3 separate regions of the Homo sapiens genome follow, and all the other regions are linked to region 1. Evidence: promoter capture Hi-C in human tissues and cell types (Jung and others, 2019). All regions are on one chromosome and are shown on one strand. Each heading gives the region's core, a stretch centred on a gene start or on the middle of the fragment in contact. The rest is flanking DNA. Distances are from core to core; before and after follow the strand shown.

Region 1 (3,873 bases), core at 382-2,881:
ATTTGTACCCCTGACAGCCAGTTATGGCCATTGGCCCTTGTTTGGCCCCTCAGGGACGCCAAAGCAGGCAGAAGAGATGCATCCTCATTGTTTGTTATGGCAAACGGGGGTTAAGGATAACAAGTGAACATCATTCCCTGCTTTCAAGTAAGGGAGCCCCATCTCCCCATTCATCCCAGGGTGCATGCATTCCTGCATTTCAAGTTGTAGGGAGCAGATACAGAAAAGAACCAAAGAGGCAGTTCAGAAAGATGGGCTGGGCAGTCGGGGAGCCTGGGAGGGCCATGGCAGGGAGCTATGTGGGCAGGCGAGTAGGGAGGAGCCCTGTAAGGCTCCCAGCAGGGCCAGGACCCTTGGACTCAGCACAAAACAAAGGGAGACAGCCCCAGGCCTGCCTGCTCAGGACTGGTCTGGCTTCCATCCAATAAAGGAAGGACCCTTCTCCAAAGAGTCAAAACAACCCAGATTGTTTTAGTTCCAGATTATTTTCTGAGCCCTTGGCTCAACAAAACCAGGTCCAGGATGGTTTGGCATCAGTATAATTCCAGGAGACTGAGCTGCAGGTCTCCTGGGTTCCCAGTTTCCTACTGCACTGCTCATGCAGTTCCCATGGAGCTGGAACATAGCCAGTCTGGACGGAAGGCTAAGTCACAGCACCCTGAAGGGACCATCCCAAGACCCTAGAGTATCTATCCACAGGGGACCTGCCTGTAAGGAAAGACAAAAATAGCCCATTAGGGCACTGCAATACTGCCTGCCCAGAAAGAGAGCAAATGCCAGGTGCTCTGGGGGCACCATACCAGCGGGCACCCAGCCCAGGCCTGAGCTCTGCCATCAGTGACAGTCCCCAGAACTTCTGCTCTGTCACTGGAGTGCCCACCCCAGAGCCCTCATACCTTCTCCACGTTCTCCACAGTGAAGTCCAAGGCTGGTGCTGCTCCAGCCCCTGCAGCCCCCGGCTGCTCCTCCCGCCGCTCCATCTTTGCTCCCTCCCTGGCAGGGAGGTGGGCCCTGATCTGTCTCCTGCCCCAGCCCCTTGGCTGCTGGCCCCCTGCTAGACCCCGGCTTGGGTGCCCAGGGAGTGGTGGGGTGAGGGGGGGCCCAGGGCGGGCATGGCTGCCGAGGCCTCCCCACCTCGTTTGGGGGTGGGAGGCTTGCCAGAGACCAAAATTGGTGCTCTTAGGAGACCCAATGAAGGGGACTCCGAGGAGGGAGCCGTCAGTGAGGAGCTCTCAGGCGGGGATCCTAGTGGCAGGTAACAGCTCTGTCCCCAGAATCTGTGTGGAGGGAGTCACAGGGGAGGGAGGCCTGCGGGGGAAACCGAGTCCCTGGCTCTTGAGGGGTCACAGGGTCGATGGCCTGTACCCACAACACCCCCGCCTGGGTGAGCTCTCGGCTGCTATGAACAGGTCATGGGGCTGGAGGGTCACGGGAGAGAGAGAGCCCTTCGTGGTTACGGAGGCGTCCAACGAAGCGCGGAGATGCAGCTCCGCTAGTCTAGGGCGAAGAGTCCGTGGAGTTGAGGGGCTGTGGCAGGTCCCTTCCGTTCGGCCTGGCCCGCGCTGTGCTCAACGCCCGGCTACAGCCCCGCTACAGCCGCTGCCTCCGCCCCAGTGACTGACAAGACAAGCCAGGCCGGCCGGGACGGGGCAGGGACCTCGGCAAGGCGCGGGCTGCCCCGAGCGCCTGTCCCCGGCACCTCCAACTCAGGCCCCCACTCCTGCCAGTTCTGGCTCGGCACGGCCCGGTACAGGCCGGCACGGCCCAGCGGAACTGCGCGGAAACTCATTCCGGGTCCTTAGCCCTGTCCTCGCGCCAGCTCGCACTCCCCTGAGCAGGCGGTGGAGCGGCTCGCCGCCCCAGGCCGCGGCCGAGTCTAGGCCCCGCCGCTGTTCACCCTGGGAAATGTAGTCCGTGTTGCGCCTAGCCGGAAGGCGGCGCCCTGCGGAGGAGGCCGGGAGCACGTGGGTTGGGGACCTGCAGAGCCCCGCCTGTCCTCGGCCTACCGCGGCGAGCAGGCATTCCGGGTCAGACCGGCGCGGGGCGCTGCGGCCCAACTCCTTAGTAGGACGACGTGACTCGAGGGGCCGGAGGACGGAGGTGGGAGCCCGGGCTAGAGGGTGGAGGCTGGGGAGGTTGCCTGGTCACTCTGGCGCTCCGCTGCCGGGGGCATCCTCCGGCCCAGCAAAGGTGCAGCCTGGGAAGAAGGCGTCAGCACCACCCAGAGAAGAGGAGAGGGGACTTGGCACGCCTCAGGAAGGAAAAAAGGAAGGCTCTCGGGACCACCCAATAAGCAACCGGGAAACCACATACCATGGACAGTGCTCGGGGAATTTCGTAAGGTTTTTGGAAGTAACTTTATGTGTAACTAGAGTAAGAGTAGCTTACATTTAAGTGCTAGGAGCAGGACTTTGCTTACCTTAGGTTCAGTTTTCTTAATAGCTCTGAGGTGGATATTTTTATTCATCATTTTCAGATGAGATGAGGAAATCGAGCTTGGGGAAAGTTAGGCTTATCTTGCCCCTGGCACACAGACAGGGTGGCAGACCATGCCATAGATCTGGTCTGCCACAGGCCCCGGTAGTTCCTGCCTGTCACCCCTCCAGTTGTATTTTATTGTTTATTAACTCCTGCCAGCTACCCTAGCAGGGAAGAGGAAAAAATTAAAAGTGCAAAGAGCTCCGTAGTTTTGTTCAAATGGAGGAAGCTGGCATTGGAAGCTGGCATTGGCAGCAGCTGCTGAGGCCTGAGAAGGTCCATGAAGGCTTCCCTGAGAAGAGAAACTTGATCTGAGCTTGAAGAATAGAGAGCCTGGGAAGGAGAGGGGCCCATTTAGCTGGTAAGCAAAATCCAGTAGGACTCTAAGTCATTCAGCAAGTCTTCATCAATAAAGAATAGCAAGTAGGCCGGGCGCGGTGGCTCACGCCTGTAATCCCAGCACTATGGGAGGCTGAGGCGGGCGGATCACGAGGTCAGGAGATCGAGACCATCCTGGCTAACACGGTGAAACCCCGTCTCTACTAAAAATACAAAAAATTAGCCGGGCATGGTGGCAGGCACCTGTAGTCCCAGCTATTCGGGAGGCTGAGGCAGGAGAATGGCTTGAACACGGGAGGTGGAGCTTGCAGTGAGCTGAGATCACGCCACTGCACTCCAGCCTGGGCGACAGAGTGAGACTCCGTCTAAAAAAAAAAAAGAAAAGAAAAGAAAGAATAGTAAGTAATTTATATTCATTTTAAGAGAATATATGTGGGGTGGGGAAGGGGAAGGGTATGAGTAACAGAGATGAGGTTGGAAAGACAAGTTGGTGGCAATAGATTCTTGTAGGAGTTTGGACATTATCCTAAGTGCAATATGAAACCATGATGGGGTTTCAAGTGAGCAATGATGATTACATTTGCATTTTAGAAAAATCTGCAACATGAAAGACAAATTGAAGGAAGAAAGAGAGGCAGGAGACATTTGGAAGGAGGAAATAGAAAGCCAAAATAAAGTAACTGATTCCAGGCCTGTGCCTAGGGTGTGAAATACCTTGGGCCTGGTGCTGGCTGGCGGTTTCACTGGTGGAGGTGGTGGTGGGCAGGGGAGATGGTGTTGGGAGTGGGGTTTAAATGCACAAATTCTGGACTTAGTCCTGAGTTCAAAACCTGTTTATGCCTCTTTCTAGCAATGAGACCTTAGCTTCTTCTGAAACTCATTTTAGTTAAGGGGTTTTAGGGGTGGGGGGCTCAGCCCAGAGACCACAACTTAGTCAGTATGTGTTTTCTTCCTGCTTCCCATCCAGGGCTCCTCCTCATCCCTGGAGGTTCCAGGGATCTGGCAGAGAAAGAAGCCCAGTCTCACAGCAATGACTCCTGAACATCCTTTGCAAAC
Region 2 (3,830 bases), core at 648-3,147, 400 kb before region 1:
ATTTGGGAAGCTGTAGATCTGTGGGTAGTGATTGGATGTGACAGTCCAAACACTGGTCCCTAAATTAATCCTTTTAATGGTATTCCGGCACCAAGGCAATTCTCTCTCTCCCTGTCTGTCTCTCTGTGTCTCTCACTCTTTCTTTCACTCTTTTTCGCTCTTTTTAACTAGGGAGGACAGAATGGGGTGGGCTAGGAGGAAGGATAAAGAAAGGAAGAGAAGAAGCTTTGTTTGCTGCTTAGGCCCTGCTCTGTTCTAATTAGCATGTTCTAATTCCAGAGCAGTTGGCATCATGACTGTGGGCATATTAATTCATTTAGCAAACATTTACTCTTGCTTACTTTGTGCCTGGTCCTGTGCTGGGTGCTGGGAATACAGAGGAATAAAATGTGGTCCTTACCCTTAGGGATCTAGCTCAGTGTTTCTCAGGCTTTAAAAACTCTGAGACTTAGCACAGTTTAGATTAAAACACACACACACACACACACACACACAACAAAACAATCTCATGCTCTTCTTTAATGCTATTTGAAATTTTGAAATGCATTAGTCTAACAAGCAAGTCAAAGAATTATGTCAAATATGCTTTTTTTTTTTTTAACACATGCACACATTCACCTATACTGCTGTCTTCTATCCTTCTTCCTTAACTCTTTGAAAATTACTGGTAGTAGAAGAAACATACCTAATATCTTACAACATAGTGAGATAAAAGTTATGAAGTAGGAATAAACTGTGCCACTGGATCATACTTAAACAATTAGCTTTATGATGGAGTGTCAGAGAAAGCCACCAAAAGGGGGGAGATTTGAGCTGGATTTTAAGGAAGGAGTCATAATTTGTCTGGCAAAAAATGGAAGTGCATTCCAAAATAGGGAGCAGCGTTTGCCAAAGCACAAATTTGTAAAAGGAAACGTCACATTTGGGTACTTGAGTAAGAATTGGTTATAACCCTGCCTCCTGCCAGTTTCCACTCTGTAAGATGGAAAGATTTGCTCCTGTGGAATTTTGTTTGAGAAGAGACTTCGAGTTCCTTGTGCTGCCGTTCTTTTAATTCTGCTCTTGTGCTCAGGCCTGTAATTTTTCTTTTTAAATATAAAAAAATATGAAAACTAGTTAGGATGATTTGGATAGACTTAATTATTGCTTAAGGTTGAGTTACTTTTAGTTAAAGTTACACTTTGCCTCAAAAGAAAAACTGCAGTTGATATGCATTGTTGGTCCTCTGTCGGATGGAGGGAATCAGTCATGTGGGGAAATGTGGGCCATCACACGTGGTAGAGAACAGGGCCCCAAAGAGCTGAGCACCTCCGAGCCCTTAGTTTCCTCATGTGTGATATGCGAATATTCTTACCCATTCTGCTTGATACTTGGGAGGATTAAATAAAATATGTAAATCATCGATACAATGCCTGGCTTGGAGTAGATTTTCAGAAAAGGGTGTTTGCTTTTTCTCTTTCTCATGTAGTAACAGCTCCCTTTTATTGAGCGCTTGCTATTGTGCAAAGCACTTTTTGTACATCGCACGGTTGAATTGAATCCCAAAGACATAGGTATTATTATTATTATAGCTATTATTACAAATAATTTGTAGTAGAGTCAGGATTTGAACCTAGGTTTGTCTATTACCAGTGTTTTAACACTAGATTATATAACTCCTTGCTTTTACAGCAGTTCCCCATCTTGGGACCAGGAGTATAGGAAGTATTTAACAGTTCTGGGTACCTCTCTTCTGGGATCAGATGCTGTCTACAAATGTGAGAGGTGCTTAAAGGGATGATGCTACCATACCCTGCCCTCCATCCATCTCTAGTCTATTTATGGTGTGTTAGGAAGCAAGGCTTTGCCCCTTCTCGTGTGTGATGAGGTTGCAACTGACTTGCAGGACTTTGCAAAAAGATGTCTTCAAGCTTTGGCCGCTGAAAGGAGTTTGCCCAAGCTACTGGGCATGGCTGCTGGGTTAGCAAACAGCAGGCAAATCACAAACAATTGCCTCTTTTTATGTGTTTCTTGGAGCTGCTGAAACAGACCAGTTGAAGGGGAGAGCAAGCCTGCTGTGACCTATGATGTTGCCCTCAGAATTTGGTGTTCCTGAAGATCTTTAGTGATTTTAGCTCTGCTGGTAGTTTGGGATTATTAGCAGCTGCTTCTGAGTTGGGGGAGCTCTCCATAGCTGTGCCTTGGAGCAGAAGCAGCTGTAGCTACAGGCCAAGGCAGGGACTGAGTGTAGAGAAGAGGAGACTGTTTTGTTGAGGTGAGGACTCAGTTTTAGAGTTCCTGCTTCCTTTCCGCATTGGGACCATGTGGAGCTTCCAGGGCATGTCAAGCTTTGTTTTGTCTTCAACCTCTAGCCTTCAACAAACTAGACAGAGTCCTCAGGCTCTTGGCCTCTTCTGTGAGACTGCATAGCTTGGGAAATGACTAGTGAGGCCTTTTCCTTGTGTTGGAGCAGTAGCCTGAGACCCTGGCCTTGGAGTTGAGAGCCTGGGTTCTATTCTTACTATTTCTTGCAGTGTGAACCTTGGGCAGTCCTTTTCTCTTTCTAATCTCATTTTCCCTGGCTGGTTGGACTGTGTTGCCTCTTAGGTTTTCTTTCACCTTTGACAGTTTGTTTTTCACACAGAGAGTGCTCTGGCAGTAAGGATATATTCATTAGATTGAAGATTATGACTTTTGAAGGGATGCAGTTTATTTGTATTTTTTCCCAGGCTATTTTTAGCTGCTTGAGACAAAGCCAGTGACTGAGTTCCAGACAGGTATTACTGTGTTTTTTGTTGTTGTTTCTGTGACTCAGGTGCCTGAGCACTTGTGATACTGCAGGTCAGATTGGGTTGGGGACTTACACCAGGACTGAGAACTGAGGAAGCTATGATTGTTGTATTCCTAGGTGCTTTCAGTCAGCTGGACTCAGAACCTGTTGCAGGTAACTTGGAGTTACTTGGATGTATCCCTGCCTCCTAGTCTGGCTTTTAATGGAATGAATTGAATCCAGGGGTGGTATAAACATACACCATCCCAGAGATCCCAAGTACATGTGGCTGGGGAGGTGGAAGTGGGAGTAGACCACCTGTTTCACAGTGGCCTCCTCTTGTTTTCCCATCCTGAGGACTCCCTTGGCCTGTGTGTGTGGATGTTAAAGGTTGACCCCCTCTGCTCACCCCTCCAGTAATGGAGGCTATAAAATGTCTATTTACCCAAGACACCAGAACGACTCCTCTGTGGTTCCTCTAATCTGGTGATTTGGTGCTTCTTTGGTCTCTCAGGTAAATACAGATTGAGTCTTTTTATAAAGGCATATTATTTCCCTCATTAAATGTGTGTTTTGGCACATGTGTTATTTACCTGATAGACAGTAATGGCTGCAGAGGAGCCATTGGTGTCTGTTGTGTAAATACTCTGCACAGAGACCATCCTCCAGGGGCTCTGGCGCAGGCCTGCTTCTCCAAATCGGGCTGGCCCCGTGGCAGTCCCATTTACCCCTCCCCTGTCCCCACTGGGGACCTGGGCCCTTCATATTGAGGAGAGAATCATTCATTTTCCTCCTTGCCATGGGCTACTTAATACCTTTAATTTGCTAGGAGACGGAAAAGGATGTCTGAGAATAAATGTGTATAAATCTTAGTCTCTGATGAAAGATAGTTTGCAGAAATAGGCAGAATCATAAACTTTCTTTTGAGTTCTGGCCCTCATTTAGATACTCAAAGTCCCAGTTGATATTATAAGCTATAGACTTATAGCCTGCAAATTTGTGACTAAAACATAAAGACATCAATAGAAAAGAGAAATCCCTAAGACACCGGAGGGTGCAAGGGCAAGTGGGATGCTGCTGC
Region 3 (3,769 bases), core at 633-3,132, 450 kb before region 1:
TTATTATTTATAGCAAAAGATGTTGTCAGTACTTTAATGTTTATCAGTAGTAAAAGGCTCCCTCAGACTAACTTAGAGAGTTCCCGTAGATCCAGTGCACATTCTCACAGATAGATGATACAGATAAGAAGGCCTGTTCAATCATCAAGCCAAATATTTTTAGCTGTTACCACATGCAGTGGTCCTCACTACGATGCAAGTACTCAGAAACTAGAATTAATCACTGTCTATAACAGCAATCTAAACGAATAAATTAAATGCAAATCCCTCATAAAATCAGAGCAAAATTATGTAATGCAAAATTGAATATGTAATACCTCACTAATTCACAGGTCATATGTCCAGCAACCTCAGCTATCCAAAACACAATGAAGCAGGAAATAAGCAAAAAGGGTCCCAGAATAGCCAAAATAAACATTACAAAGTCCATGCACTAAAGTTAACACATTTCCCTCCTAGGAGAATTACACAAGCCTTCATTCAGAGCCGATTTATTCTTTCTTAGGTACAATTCTAATAAGCTTGATTATTTGGCTTTCCCATTCACAGCTGATTAAGATTGTCAAATTAAAAGGGGGCAGCCATTAAAAAGAATGATATAGACTAGGATGTATTGACATAGAAGGATACCTATTATATACTGTCGAGTGAGAAAAGCAAGTCATACAACAGTATGTACAATATGATTTGATATTTGTCCGTATACGTGTACACACACATTGACAGAAAAAGGCCTGTAGGGATACATTAAACCGTTAACAATGGTTATGGCTAGGGAGTGAAAGTGTGGACGTGACAGGGTGGGGGGTTAGACAGGAATGAAGGGAGGACTTTGACTTTTTACTCCATAGACTTCTGTTTGTTTTCAGTGAACATATATTAGTTTTGTAATTTTAATATCCGTTAAAACGTATATAAAAAGAGCAAAGGGTAGTGTTGTTAGAGCAAGAACACTGACAATGAGAAATGGTGACCGAACTATAAGAAGCAAGCACCATAACTCAAAAACTACAACAAAATAGGGTTATTTGGTGTGAAGGCAAAAAGCCCTATCCCATCAGTGCTCCCAGCGGATGTCATGAATTCCAACCAAACATATCCTGATACTTTTGGGGATAGGTCATCAAGGAACACATTACACTTAGTATATTTTACTTATGAGAGTAAGCACACGTGTGAAAATATAGAAAAATAAATTCCTACCAAAATGATTTAAACAGAAGATTTTGATACTTTAAGAAGTAAATTTCAGTTGTCTGGAAAATATACTTTTGTGTAACACATCATTCCCTGAAGATGAGAAGTAAAGGAGATATCACTTTATATAAGAACAGAGGTGATGCAGAGTAAGGAATGGTCCACAAATTCAACAAACATTTATTGAGTGTCTACCAAGTGCCAGTCACTAAGAATAGAAAGATAAATAATAGTGCCTGCCCTAGAGAGGTTTATAGTCCAACAGCAGAGATGGATTGGAAAGCAAATACATATGGCACAATGAAAGCAGTGCTATAATGGATATTCTGAGTATAGGGTGGTAGAAACACAAAAGAAGGAGGTGCTGAGTCTGCCTGGAGCTATTAGGAAAGGAGGCAGAGACAGAAGTGGGTGTTTTAAAAAATAACTATCATATGGGATGACATTTAAGCTTCGTTAAAAATGACTGTTATATGGAATGACACTTAAGTTGGGCTTTGAAGGATAAGTAGTTTATCAAGGGAGAAAAATAGGAAGAGCACTCCAGGATGAGCAAATAGCGTATGCAAAGGCACATGAAATTTCCTGCCACATTCCGATAGTACATCTCAAATTTTTCCTCAAGAAAGAGGTGGTGCAGGTGGTGATGTCTAAGGGCAAGCCTAAAATGGCTTGCCACTAGCTTGAAATTTATGTATCCTGTTTTATCTTGAAAAATGAATGAAAATTTTGCCTTCAATTCCACAAATATATTAAGCTTTAATATAAAACCATGTTTTAAATTACTTATCATTTGATAGAACTGATGCTCCAGAAAGATGCACCACATTTATTTGGTGCTTTCTCACATCCAAAGCACAACACTAAATAAACCAGGGGCATTCATTCCTAATTTGAAAAACATTCAGAAATTGGGCTGGGAGCTGAAAAAAAAGATGTAGAAGATATAAGGGGAGACTGGAAAAATAGATTAATGGACTGTGAAAGATCTTGTTTGTCACATTAAGGAACTAACTGGACACTCCCAGTGTCTAGCCAACTCCTATTTATACTTCAAGACTTTGTTTGGGATGGACTCTTCCAGGAAGCCACCCTGCCCACCAGCCTCTCTTCTCCTCAAATCTGATTATCATAGCAGTCTATGCATGCATCTATTCATTTATCACATTGTACTGGAATTATCGATTGTTTTCAGATTCCTCTAATAGACTCTGATCTGCTTAAAGCAGAATTCTGTCTTAGTTGTTTTGCGTGGTACTTAGCACAACAGATACTGGTGTCTGTCGGACTCAACTGATTTAGATAAAAGGACAAGATTCAGAAAGTACTACCTGGTCTAGATTCTAAAGCTTCTTGAAGGTAGGGCCTGCTTGCGTACCACTGCATCCCAAACACTTCACACTCACTGGAAACATCCAGTAGGTGATTGATAAAAAGTGCAGAATGAATGAGTGAAAATTCTCAAAACAGGAATGACATGATCAGATCAGGGTTTAGAAAAATAAAATTGGAGGCAATTTTAAATGTAGACTGGAGACGAGTAAGACTGGAGACAAAGAAATTAGGGAGAAAAAATGCAAAAGATACATAGGACAAATTGGTAAAAGATTGCCTTTTCTTAAAAATGTTTTTCTAATTGGCTAATTTGATTAGATGTTTATATTTATGTTACAAGACTGGTCTTTTTATTCTCTTAGGATTTCCTGATGGAGGATATTCAGTTGCCTTGTTCCCTGACCCCAGCTGCCTTCAGGCTGGTGTCTTCTTGTACATCTGGAGGTCACTGAGGGCAGTGACTATGTCTTATTCATCTTAGTATCTCCAATGCCTAGGACATGCCTGCTCAATAAATGTTTGCTGAATGAATGAACACATAAATTGATCTATTAGTATACTGTACTCAAGCTCCGACCAAGACACAGAGGACCTAATGATCCCCAGTGTGTGGGTTTCTGGATACAGGAAACAGAACAAATAAAGCAAGACTGGATACAAATGCACACCTATTCCACAGGTAACACAGGGTAAATTTCTCTCTCTGACCCTTCCATCCTCATTCTGAAGAATAACTCTCATTGAGTGAAAATCAATAAAAGTCATTTTAAGGGAAGTAGGTTTAGAAAAAGGCCCTGAAGGAGGAGCAAGGAGGAGGGGAACTTCAAGTTTGAGCAATCTGGACTTTTAAAATATATATATAAGGACTTGTAAGCTTCAAAAAACCTTCACAAAATAAAAAGTCTGCTTTTCTACACTCACTTTCAAAAGGAATCTCCCTCATCTATGCCCAACACATAAACCAGGAGACTTTTTGAGATTTCCAGTTTTATCACCCAAAAAGAAAAAATAAATTCACAGTAGAAATAATAAATCCTCCATTTTTCATATTGACTCCAACAAGAAACTTTCTGAAGTAGTTGCAGGTAGCTCCCAAAGACAGTCAGCCAATATCAATGCCAAGATTGACCGTCTGGCAATCTAGCAACAAATATTTACTGACTACATACTATGTATGAATCAAGGCAGTAGGAAGAAGCTGTAAAAGATGCCCACCCCATCCCCCCAAAAAGGCACA

The links. Contacts are between HindIII fragments. The study calls those that stand out against the background at their distance.
Region 2: a fragment that was not itself captured here is called in contact with the fragment with the promoter of IPO13 in region 1 in 1 of the 25 tissues and cell types used here (hippocampus).
Region 3: a fragment that was not itself captured here is called in contact with the fragment with the promoter of IPO13 in region 1 in 2 of the 25 tissues and cell types used here (adrenal gland and aorta).

Annotation. Positions count from the first base shown.
Region 1 is chr1:43,944,708-43,948,580 of GRCh38, reverse strand. It overlaps IPO13 (importin 13), which reads right to left and starts at 1,631. Exons shown (of 20, transcript NM_014652.4): 1 at 897-1,631. The coding sequence starts at 980. LOC101929609 (a long non-coding RNA gene) reads left to right here and starts at 1,982. Exons shown (of 2, transcript NR_188535.1): 1 at 1,982-2,100; 2 at 3,785-3,873. RefSeq lists a silencer at 1,586-1,835. The HindIII fragment of the contact is 10,546 bases long and covers 1-3,873 here.
Region 2 is chr1:44,344,545-44,348,374 of GRCh38, reverse strand. The region is part of intron 2 of ERI3 (ERI1 exoribonuclease family member 3); the gene reads left to right. Among named protein-coding and RNA genes, the nearest start is that of ERI3, 8.8 kb to the left of the region's middle. The HindIII fragment of the contact is 5,311 bases long and covers 1-3,830 here.
Region 3 is chr1:44,398,676-44,402,444 of GRCh38, reverse strand. No RefSeq gene overlaps it. Among named protein-coding and RNA genes, the nearest start is that of RNF220, 4.7 kb to the left of the region's middle. The HindIII fragment of the contact is 5,699 bases long and covers 1-3,769 here.